2 separate regions of the Homo sapiens genome follow, and region 1 is linked to region 2. The links are contacts of gene promoters, found by promoter capture Hi-C in human tissues and cell types (Jung and others, 2019). All regions are on one chromosome and are shown on one strand. Each heading gives the region's core, a stretch centred on a gene start or on the middle of the fragment in contact. The rest is flanking DNA. Distances are from core to core; before and after follow the strand shown. Region 1 has its middle 17 kb from the start of WFDC8. Region 2 holds the start of DBNDD2 (dysbindin domain containing 2).

Region 1 (5,983 bases), core at 2,541-5,040, 190 kb before region 2:
GTCTATGTGTGGCACAGCCTTCTCCATTTTTCCTCCCTTCTTCCTCACTATTCCAAGAGGCACCCATCACTAAGATGCACATATACTTAATATCATAAACCTCTAACTTCTATGACCCCTGGTTTGCTGTGATTCATACTAGATGACCCAAGCCCTGAGACCACATGGGTGGTAAGGATAGGACCTGAAGAGGGGAGAGAAGGTGGTACATTCAATCTGCCTGGTGCTGAACTCACTGCTTTGATGAGTATTGCACCCTTTTCAAGCTTCATCCAAAGACTTCCTTACAGACCACCTTCCAGACCTGTAAGAATTAACTGAGAAATTTCCAGGAACTTTTACTTACATTTCCCCCGCAAAACGAAAGAAAACGTCAGGTCATCTGAAGTTGGGAAGGCTTTGGCACGGTGGACACTGCCACTCAACTGATGTGTCAAGAGTTTGAGAACCACAAGCGGGCAAATCACTTGAGATCAGGAGTTCAAGACCAGCCTGGCCAACATGGTGAAATACCATCTCTACTAAAAATACAAAAATTAGCCAGGCATGGTGGTGCACGCCTGTAATCCCAGCTACTTGGGAGGCTGAGACAGGAGAATTGCTTGAGCCCAGGAGGTAGAGGTTACAGTGAGTCAAGATCGAGCCATTGCACTCCAGCCTGGGCGACAGAGCAAGACTCTGTATAAAAAAAAAAGAATTCGAGAACCAGTTGTATGTAGCTTTGATCACTTCCAAGGGAGAAAAAAAAATTACTTATTTCTTAATGCATTCACTTTGTGCTGAAGAAAAGGGAGAAGATGGTGAAGTCTGGATACTTATGAGCTATGACACTAGTAATAGTGGAAAGGTCAAGAGGTTGGAAAGAAGGTTAAAGAAGGACTCTAGAAGACGACTGGAGTGAGTGATTGACAGTAGAGAGAGAATAAGAGTCAGGGAGAGATAAGATATGGGTGAGAGTCTAGAGGAACTCTCAGGCTCTTTTGGGATCTCGAGTTCTATGAGTATGGATTTCACTGGATGACTTCATTAGAGTTTGGGATGATAAAAGTAGATTTCATTTTGGCCAAGGGGAAATAGGGAAGCTCTAGAGGCCAGCACATTGTGGATCCTGTGGGAGACTGCAGGAGCAGATCAGGCAAAGGGAGTGAGTTTAAGCAAACACAGGACTTGGAGAGTACAAAGAGGACGCTTTCTTAAGAAGCAGTTAAATCCATGGATTCTGGAGTCTAGAAGGGTTGTTAAGTTTGAAAAGGGTAGATTCTCAAGGTTCCTCAGCCTGTTGTACATACCTACCTGCCCTGACACAATCCCAACAGGTGGATTATTATTCAGGCACTTCCAAATGGATTCATATATGGATTTCTACATTGACCAGAGAGAGATGTGCCTGGACTGACAAGTAAATGGCCAAGGTTACCTGGCCTTGTGATCCATCAGTGGGAGATGGGAAAGGAAGAGAGGGAGACAGGGTTACCTCCTTGCTTCACCTGGACCCACTTCCATGGGAGAGAATATCCCAGCCTTGATATTCCAATCAAGCAGACCTAGGATTTCTGCTTCTACTACTCCATCTCCAGCACCCTTAGCTTCCCTCATTAAAGCCACGTACCTGACTCTTCTTTCTGTCCAAGAGCTTTGACTTCTTCACTGACTTCCCATCCCTGCCACTCATCACATAGCCACTTTTTCTCGACCAGGTCCCCAAAGACCTCTCCCTTCTACATGTACCCAATATCTGTAGGAAGCAACCACCCGTATATGGGCATATCCCCATAACTGATCCACAGGTGCCCTCAACTTGCTTCTCCATTTATCCTTACCCTCTTTTTTCCTTTCTTAAGACCATTCCTCTGTTTCCTCTAGTTGTCCTTAATTTCCTTCATGGAAGGATAGCCTTCAAAGTAGCAGTACTCAAAGGTACTATTACCTATTCCTCGGTTTAAGAAGTATTAGATTTGTCCTTTTTGCCTAGTTGATTTCATTTCCACTAGTGGTCATTTACTCTTTCAGGATCCACATAACCTGTAATAGGCTCATTTTAAAATTTAATAACTTCCATTAAGTAATCAACAGGAGGTTATAAAATTGCTACTGTGTGCCTGGGTTGATACCTCTCTATAGGAAAAGGGACTAGGTATTCATGCACAGATGGATAAGGTAGCTACATGCCTTTCAGCATTATAAGTTTTATAATATAGACAAGTAGAGTCCAGAGTAGAGCATGATAACAAAGCATAAGGGGACTCACAGTCAGTACCTATGAGTTAAGGGGAGAGGGTAGAGAGGAAGTTGATGGTGAGAGGTTCAGAGTAGGGTCCCTGGGGCATGCTAAATGTAAACATGGCCTTGAGAAACAGGAAAGGATTGGGGCTGGACACGGTGGCTCACATCTGTAATCCCAGCACTGTAGGAGGCTGAGGCGGGCAGACCACCTGAGGCCAGGAGTTCGAGACCAGCCTGACCAATATGGTGAAACCTCATCTTTACTAAAATACAAAAAGTAGCCAGGCGTGGTAGTGCATGCTTGTAATCCCAGCTACTTGGGAGGCTGAGGCAAGACAATCACTTGAACCTGGGAGGCGGAAGTTGCAGTGAGCGGAGATTGCGACACTGCACTCCAGCCTGGGTGGCAGCACGAGACTCCGTCTCAAAAAAAAAAAAAAAAAAAAAAAAAGAAGGAATTGGGACACTTTTGAGTGTATATATATTTTTATCCTGGAGAAAATAGACCCAGCCCAGGCTCTCTCTGGACCCTGACAGAGAGGGAAGAAGAGAAGGAATGAAATCCTGTTTTCCTACTTTGACATCATGTGCTCTGCCTGGTCCCCAGTTCTGACATCACACTGGACTGTGAACTTGGTGTTCAATTTGGAATTTCTGTACTTTCTTTTTTCCTTTTGCTCCCTCTTATAATGGATATAAAAGGTCTGGATTCTTTTCTGGAGTCTAGAATTTCCCCATAGGTTCTTGCTCTGTCTCAAGTCAGAGGATCTCTTCTATTTTCACATAGTGCCCTGAAGAGTCTTTTTAAGTCTAGGAGCCCTCCATCTGCAGTACTGTGGATTTTATCAGGAGCATTCCCCAGGGGGGGAAATATCTGTTTTGACTTCTGTGGGAACACAGGAGTTTTTTTGTAATGGATAGATGAAGGTGGGGTGGGGTGTATCCCATGGGTATAGCAGGGGTAAGCAATAGATTTATTAGTTACAACTAACAACTATTGTTCCAAGCAACAAATATTATTAATAGTTGTTCAAAGAAACACTAATCTAGGCTGGTGTGTTTCAACCCAAATAAGCAGCAGCATGGCACCTGTCTCCTGGAACTATTTTGTTCCTTGTCAGTCTGCTCCAGACACTCCTCCTTTGTGCTAAGTGCAGAGGCCAAGAATCCAGAGCATCACTCCATGCCCTATTCCTACCCTCACTCGGATCAACCTCTGCCTTATTGCTTTTGCTACCTGGGACACTGCATCATCGGAACATCACTAATGTCCCATCTGCATGGTTTGTGCCCAAACCAAGAGGAGAACAGATCAGCAGTATCTCAGATATGAGACATCCAGTGATGCTGTTGCATCAACAGAATAGTTAGGGAGCTGATCTCTGTGCCTAGGCCCTGCTGCTGGGTTTCATGCCAAGCAAAGGCAATGTTGCTTGTGTCAACAGGGACAAAATGAGAAGGGCTTTCAGAAGTCCCCCCTAACTAAGGACAATTTTCCATTATCTGAATGCCCCACAATTAAAGCTTTATTCATTAGGGTTAATTTATTTATTTTTGAGACGGAGTCTCACTCTGTCGTCCAGGCTGGAGTGCAGTGGCACGATCTCAGCTCACTGCAACCTCTACCTCCCAGGTTCAGGCAATTCTCATGCCTCAGCCTCCCAAGTAGCTGGGATTACACGTGCATGCCACCATGTCTGGCTAATTTTTGTATATTTAGTAGAGATGGGGTTTCGCCATGTTAGCCAGGTTGGTCTTCAACTCCTCACCTCAAGTGATCTGCCTGCCTTGGCCTCCCAAAGTGCTGGTTGGGGCCTCCCAGTGGGAATCTCAGTATCCCCAGCCAGGGGTTTATGGATGGGGCACTGATAACCCTGAGAGGACCTCCTAGGAGGAGGGACAGCTGTGGTATTGTGGATCAATGATCTGTCTTTTCTGCCTACTGGCTCTGGAGAGTCAGGGCAGCCCAGATGAGGGTGATTCCCCCAGTGTGGCACACCCTTCAAGGGGCAGAAACTCTGCTTATTTAAGCAGGTCTCTGACCCTGCTCCTGCTGACTAAGTGAGACCTCTCAACAGGAGTCTCCACACACCTCATGCAGGAGTGTTTCAGCTGGCGTCAGGCCAGTGCCCCTCTAAGACAGAGCTCTCAGAGGAAGGAGCAGCTTGGCATCTTTGCTGGTCTGCAGCCTCCACTGGTGATAACTCCAGGGATGGGAGGGACCCAGGCAAATAGGAACTGGAGTGGACCACAAGCAAACTGCAGCAGCCCTGCAGAAGAGGAGCCTGACTGCTAAAATAAAAGCAAACAGAATGCAACAGCATCAATGAAAAAGGCACCATAAAAAACTCCATTCAAATGTCAGCAGCCTCAAAGATCAAAGGTAGATAAACCCATGAAGATGAGAAAAAATGCTGAAAACTCAAAAAGCCAGAGTGCCTCTTCTCCTTCAGAGAGTTGCAACACCTCTCTAGCAAGGGCACAGAAATGGGCTGAGACTGAGATGGATGAATTGACAGAAGTAGGCTTAGGAAGATGGGTAATAAAGAACTTCACCAAGCTAAAGGATTATGTTCTAACTCACAGCAAAGAAGCTAAGAACTATGATAAAACATCACAGGTGCTGTTAATCAGAATCACCACTTTAGAGAGGAACATAAATGATCTGATGGAGCTGAAAAACACAACATGAGAACTTCATAATGCAAACACAAGTATCAATAGCTGAATAGACCAAGTGGAAGAAAGGATATCAGAGCTTGAAGACTATCTTGCTGAAATAAGGCAGGCAGACAAGATTAGAGAAAAAAAGAATGAAAAGGAATGAACAAAACCTCCAAGAACTATGGGACTATGTTAAAAGACTGAACCTAGAAATGATGGGGTACCTGAAAGAGACTGGGAGAATGAAACCAAGTAGGAAAATACACTTCAGTGTATCATCCAGGAAAACTCACCCAACCTAGCAAGACAGGCCAACATTCAAACTCAGGAAATCCAGAGAACCCCAGTAAAATACTCCATGAGAAGATCAGCCCTGACACATAATCATCAGATTCTACAAGGTCAAAATGAAAAAAAAAATGTTAAGGGCAGCCAGAGAGAAGGACCAGGTTACCTGTAAAGGGAAGCCCATCAGACTAACAGCAGACATCTCAGCAGAAACCCTACAAGCCAGAAGAGATCGGGGGCCAATTTTAAACACCCTTAAAGCAAATAATTTCCAACCTAGAATTTAATATTTGGCCCAGCTGAGCTTCCTAAGTGAAGGAGAAATAAAATCTTTTTCAGACAGCAAATGCTGAGGGAATTTGTCACCACCAGGTCTGCCTTCCAAGAGCTTCTGAAGGAAGCACTAAACATGGAAGGAAAAACCAATACCAGCCGCTACAAAAAACACACTGAAACACACAGATGAGTGACACTATGAAGCAAATGCATAAACAGGTCTGCAAAATAACCAACAGGCATCATGATATCAGGATACAATTCACACATAACAATATTAACTTTAAATGTAAATGGGTTAAATGCCCCCAATTTAAGGACACAGAGTGGCAAGCCAGATAGAGTCAAAATCCACCTGTGTGCTGTATTCAAGAGACTCATTATAATAAAAAAGAAAATAATCAAAATCCCAAAAATAAAAATACAATGATAAAAATAAAATAATCAGTGTATGCTATTTAGAGAAGCCTGGACCCAGCTGAAGAGAGGTTGATCAAACTGAAAGATAAGTTAGCAGAACATATCCAGACTA
Region 2 (5,727 bases), core at 1,787-4,286:
GGCTTTGACAGCCACCTTAGATGTGAGATATTGCTAAGAATGCAAACCATGTGCAAAAGAGCAAAAAAGGAGCCCAGTGCTGAGTAACGATGGAGCTTTCATGTAGACCTGTACTTTTTAACTTCTATATGAGGAAATAACTTTATATCTTAAGTCATGATCTTTTACTAGCTGTCAAACTGAAACCTGATCCAGGCTTCAACGGATTTTACAACCTGACCTTTGTCAGTCTTAACTCTCCCTTCATTTCCTCAAATCCAACAATTCAGCCAAACGCAATGTTTTTTAGCTCCTCAAGGATATGCTCTCTCCGTTTAAAGTCTTCACGAGCTGCTCGTTCTGCCTGGCTTACGGACTGTGCCTGGCTAACTCCCAATCGTCCTTCAGCTAAAAACAGCTCTTCAGTGACCATAGAAACTAGGTTAACATGCCCCTATTTTCTGGTACCAGAGTAGTTCCTCATCATGCTATTTATTACACTGTGAATTGTAGTATTTACTTGATTTTCTCCTCCATAAACAGTAAACTCTATGAAGGCAGGTATACAGTACAGCCTGTCTTGCTCAAAACTGTATTCCAGATGCCTAGCATGGGTGTTCCATAAACATTTCTTGAATAAATGGAATGAGTGAGTGATAGGAATATGGGATCGGTTAGAGAGCTAAAGACATGTAGTGGGTTTGATATCTTTGCAATATGAAAAATGAAGTCGAATGGTTGGCATATTATTATTAGTTTATTATTTATACCGTGCTCTGTTCCAAAAAGGATGTAAGGAGGCAGCATGGCTTGAGTACCACCTTACTTGATGAGTTAAGGAGTTCACATCCATCTAGAGACACTTGTCTGAGAGACTGTATTAGAAGACTACGGGATGGTTTAGGGGAGGGAAGAGTGCTAAGAAAAGCAGTGGCATCTTGTCCAACCTCATCTTCTCTCTCCTCATTTGCAAATCATATCTCAGGAGTAAGCCAAAAACTGGTGGGAGGGTTGCAGCAGGAAAAAATTAGCAGTAAAGCAGGAGAGGGTTAATTCTTAGAAAGGTACACAATCCCACCATCCTTCCCACCTCTGGTGCCTACTGCAAGTAAAGAGTCTGGTCTTCTCCCGACAGGCTCTGGCTGGGCCTGTGGTCTCATGTGGAGAATAGCCAGCGTGGTCAGTCTGTAGGCAGGGGCCCACTGCTAGCTGCAGGCTCCAGGCTCTGCCCCTCCATCACCCCTTTCCTCCTCTTCATCCGACTGTGCCAAGGGCGTATCTGCTCCATCATCACTTGGATTTGGGCTATGCAGGTTGGTGGAGGAGTCGGAGGAGGAGGAGGAGGAGGTCCTAGATGTGGTCCTGTCTGATGTAGGCACCGGCAGGCTCAGCTCCTCCAAATGGTTGTCCATCCCTGCCCAGAGAGAAAAGCTGGTCAGGCCACAAACAGGGCTTCAGAGAACTCTTAAAGATTATCTGGCCAGGAGTAACTAAAGTCCACAGTGGGGCAGAGACTTGTCCAAAGTGACTTTGCCAATCCAGCAAAGAGCCAGGATTAAGATCACCATCTCCTGACTGCCAGCTCCTTCCACGTCATTACACCATGTCTGGGATCTACAGTCAGGTCAATGAATGGCAAGAGTTCAAGTTCCACCTACATCACTTATTGCTGCTGAGTGGCTTTGAGCAAGTCACTTTCCCTTTCAAGGACTCTGTTCCTCCTCTGCAAAATAAAAGGGATACCTACATCCCCAAAGGGTTTTGGGAATAAAACCTAAGAATGCTTATAAAATGTCTGGCATAGTAAGCCATCAATAAATAGTAGCAGTTTTAATTAAAAGAATATCTATCTTACAAGTTAAGCATATGGGCTTTGGAGTCAGACAGACATGAATTCCAGTTTATCTACCTTCTGGCTACAATGTGACTTAACTTCTCTGAGCCTAATTTCCTGCTTATAAAATAGAGATTATATCACCTACCCTGACAGGACGTTGTAAGGATTGAGATAATATATGTAAAGTACTTTAGTACAGTATTGGAACCTACTAAAGTACTCAATACATATTAATATCATTATAATGACTAAAACTACTTAAGTTGCCAAATATAAAAATTACAATTTTACATTATTTTAATTATAGTGACTAATTATATTAATATAACAAATGTAAAATTAAAGAAGAGATTGACCGTTCCCAGAATTTTGGATTAGAGATGTGTAACCCAGTTCTCCCTCAGGGTCAACTTCCCTAAAATCAGAACAGGCAGCTGTTTCATTGGTAGAAACACCCACTTCCAGCCCTTACTTGTGTACTTCCCCAGCCCAGCCTTGTAGCCTCGTTTCAGAGCCTGACATCCGGCTCTGGCTGACTGGCACTGAAGTCCCCAAAGCAGAGGGGCATACCAGACGACTGGGGGGTTGGTGGAGGATCTTCGCAAGGCAAGAACACATCTGCTGCATCCGGGTCCCCAAGGTCAATAAGTTCTACTTGCTCCAGTGTGTCCACATTCACTTCCATGGATGAGATACTACCTATGGGGGCTGCGGATCAAGAAGTGGGCAAGTCAGGAGGACCCAAGCTGCACACCAGGACAGTGAGAGTTACATGTCAGGTCCCAAGTTAGAAGCATAGAGGGCCAAGAAAACCAGAGGGGAGAGAGTGCCACAAGATTCAGGACCCACAGGACATCCTCCCTACCCTACCCCAGTCCCTCTTCTCAGGACTTGGGACTTACGTCTCTGCGACTCGAGATGCAGATGGGACAGAGGAAAGACAAACTCTGTCTCTGGCTGTAAAATGTCCTCGAAGAATTTTTGCCGCTCCCGAAGGCGGAGCTGCTGGCGCTCCAGGGCGGCCCGAGGATTTGGGTCCATGTCAGCTCCTGCGGGTAGAGGAGCAAAACAAGTACAGCTGCAAAGTCGAAAGAGAAGACAGAGGGGACCTGGGCTTGGGGCGCCCCACTGCAGCCAGCATCCCAACAGTGGGGCCCCTGGCTCCGGCCTGGACACCTCTGCCCTTGGTGACCTCTTTCCCCTTCCCTGAAACCAAGTGTGTCCCACAAACCAAGTCTCATGCAGAGGCGGGGCTTGCCCTAAGCTCCACAAAGGGGATGCCAGTTCCAGGCACCACAAGAGAGATACTCTGTATTCAGGGAACACAGCCAATGCCCAACTCTCCATATCATGCCCTCCTGAGAGGGGTTGGAGGGATTGGTTCAGCACAAATGGAGGAGGTACGTTTTCCCCTTAATTGGCCCCGCTTGCCTCAGAAGGCCAGGGACAGGATAGGATAGAGACAGAGATCTCAGGGTGGAGGGTTCCCTTCCTCCAGTGCTGCAGCCCACCCCTTCCCATCCTTCAAAACCCAGACAAAGGCTAAAGCAACTCCTCCCGCGCCCCTCCTTTTCTCTCCACCCACACAAACACGTACACACGCATGTGCCATCTACCCCAAACCCTTGCTCTGAAGTCACAGGCCTGACTTCCAGACTAGGCTCTGCCCCTAAGGAAATCACCTTTCTGGTCTTAGTCTCCCCATCTGAAAATGGCATAACCAACCTACCTGCCTCAAATACAAGACCCTGCTTGTGAAGGTGAGCTATTTAGGAGACTACCATCTTTCCTTTGAACTCCAACAGCTCTTTATGCGTCCCCCTCCTGGGACACATCTCACTGACTTATCTCCCCATTAGTCAGTGAGGAGCAATTGGAAAGGCGGGTTCTGGGTCCAGTTCAGAGCAGGCCTCCTGACCCCTAGGGCTGAGAAGCTGAGACCCTGCCAGAGCACTGAGGCTATGGGCCAGCCCAGGTCGGTGCATTCATTCCCATTCGCTCATCTCCTTCCCGGCGTTCTGCTCTGAGCCCATCACCAGAGGCAAGGGAGTTTCTAGCTTGAGGATCAGACGTCATCCTCCGCAGACTGCCTTCCCCACCTCATCTGCACCCAGCGTATCCCAGACCCTGGCCAGCTCCACGGGCGCCACAGAGGTGGAGAGGGACCCAACCCCGACTGGCCAAGGCAGGGCCACGGAAGTCTGGGGAGACCGTGCGGCCGCGGGCTGGCGGCGGAGGAGCGAGGCGCTGACGCCGATTCCCGGGAAAGGCTCTTAGAGCTGCCGCCCAGGTCACAACGCTAAAAATACCCAGGGCCCCTGGAGCCTGTGCTCCAGCAGCGAGGAGGGGGAGGGAGAGGCCAAGGTGGGGGAGCTGACGGGGGCCAGGGGCTCTGGGACACCCCCTCTCTTTTCCCCTCCCCCTAACCCCACCGATCTCACGAGACTGAAGGAGCTGTCCCCCGGGGGGCCGCGGAGCCCAGAGCTGGAGAAAGGGAGTTGTTTACGCGACCTATAGGTACTGGAAAGGGGGTGAAGAGATTTGGGGGCAGGAGGCTGCCAGGGGCCGGGCAGGAGCCAGCGAAATGGAGAACTCCCTCTCGGTCTCAGCCCCACCCGCACTGGAGCCAGCAAGAGGGAAAAAATTCCCTAAAAAGGGACACGAGGCGTCGGCGGAGGACGGGGGGAGGGCGCTCCCCCAAGGCCGTTCCCCTCGTGCTCCGGTCCCCTCCGCGGTCCACCGCGGCACCTGCGCCCACCGCCGCCGGAGCCCCTACCTGCAGCGCTGGCGCCCCCTCTGACTCAGTCCGTCCGCTCCAGCGAGGCCGCGGCGGGGGCGTGGGAGCGAGCCGCGCCGGCCGGGGTGGGGCTGCGCCTCCAGGGCTCCCGGGGGACCGACGGGCCCTGGGAGCCGGGAACGAGGAAGAGGCGGGAGGCGGAAGTGGGGGAGGGGCGGTGGCGGGCTCACTCGCTCGCAGCTCGCCCGGCGGTCGGAGGCAGCCCCTGCGAGCGCGGCTACTGGTACTTCCAAGGCGGTCAAAAAGTTACCCGCACCCATCCTTCCTCCCTCCGCCCAGCCGGACTCCTCTGCACCACCCTCGCCACCGACGCCGGTGCGCTAGTCTCCGCTCGCTCGGATGCACTTGCTGCGCCCCCGCCCCGCGCAGACCCGCGGCGGGCGCCCGCGCCGGTTCTGCCCACGCACACTTGATGCTCTGCGCCTTTTGGGCAGCGCCCACGCAACGACTACGCACCCGAACCCTGCCTCCGGCACCCTTGGCCACACTCGCCACACTTACACGCGCGCACTTCTCCAGAGGACGCACGATGGGAAAGAGAGAGTTGGGACCCGCAGGAGGGGGCAGGGCACTGACCCGGTGCCGCCCAGCAGGGCAGGTGCAAGGCGGCGGAGGACCCCTGCCCTGGGACTCGCCCGGCTGCCCCTGATTCCTGGCTCTGGGACTAGACAGAGCCGCCGCCCAACCTACCAAGCACACTGGGCGGGGTGGGCGCCGGGCCGGCCGGGCGGGTCAGAGCTGGAAGGGTGGGCCGCTACGCCGCGCCCCCCGACGCCGGCAAGGAGCCAGCACCTCCACGGTGCTAAGAGGGGCGCTGCGCTGCTGGCCAGGCGGGGGTGGAGGGGCGAGGCGGCAACTGCGAGAGGAGAAACGTTTGCCCTCTTTTCGCAGCGTCTCCTGGCTCAGACCAGTGCTAGAAGTGTCCAGTCTAGCAGCTCCTGGACCAAGACTCCGTGGCCATTCCCTTCCTCCTGCCTTCCATCCACCCCCTTACGGTCAGAGCTCCGAAGGCAGCGTGGTGACGGGTGCGGGGAGGGGAGTGGGGGGATCTCTCTGAGATACTTCTGCCTTGGGGTCACTGGATCATTCATTCGACAAACATCCGCGAGCAAGT

The links. Contacts are between HindIII fragments. The study calls those that stand out against the background at their distance.
Region 1: a contact is called between a fragment that was not itself captured here and the fragment with the promoter of DBNDD2 in region 2, in 2 of the 25 tissues and cell types used here (liver and thymus).

What each region holds. Positions count from the first base shown.
Region 1 is chr20:45,593,785-45,599,767 of GRCh38, reverse strand. No RefSeq gene overlaps it. Among named protein-coding and RNA genes, the nearest start is that of WFDC8, 17 kb to the right of the region's middle. The HindIII fragment of the contact is 3,566 bases long and covers 2,008-5,573 here.
Region 2 is chr20:45,405,598-45,411,324 of GRCh38, reverse strand. It overlaps DBNDD2 (dysbindin domain containing 2), which reads right to left and starts at 3,036. Exons shown (of 3, transcript NM_001048225.4): 1 at 2,719-3,036; 2 at 2,387-2,524; 3 at 718-1,393. The coding sequence starts at 2,857. The coding sequence ends at 1,185. It overlaps SYS1-DBNDD2 (SYS1-DBNDD2 readthrough (NMD candidate)), which reads right to left. Exons shown (of 6, transcript NR_003189.2): 4 at 2,719-2,865; 5 at 2,387-2,524; 6 at 715-1,393. It overlaps LOC107985404 (a long non-coding RNA gene), which reads left to right and starts at 3,436. Exons shown (of 5, transcript XR_007067608.1): 1 at 3,436-3,576; 2 at 4,893-5,211; 3 at 5,505-5,608. LOC107985405 (a long non-coding RNA gene) reads left to right here. Exons shown (of 2, transcript XR_001754640.2): 2 at 1-750. RefSeq lists an enhancer at 3,899-4,448. The HindIII fragment of the contact is 23,713 bases long and covers 1-5,727 here.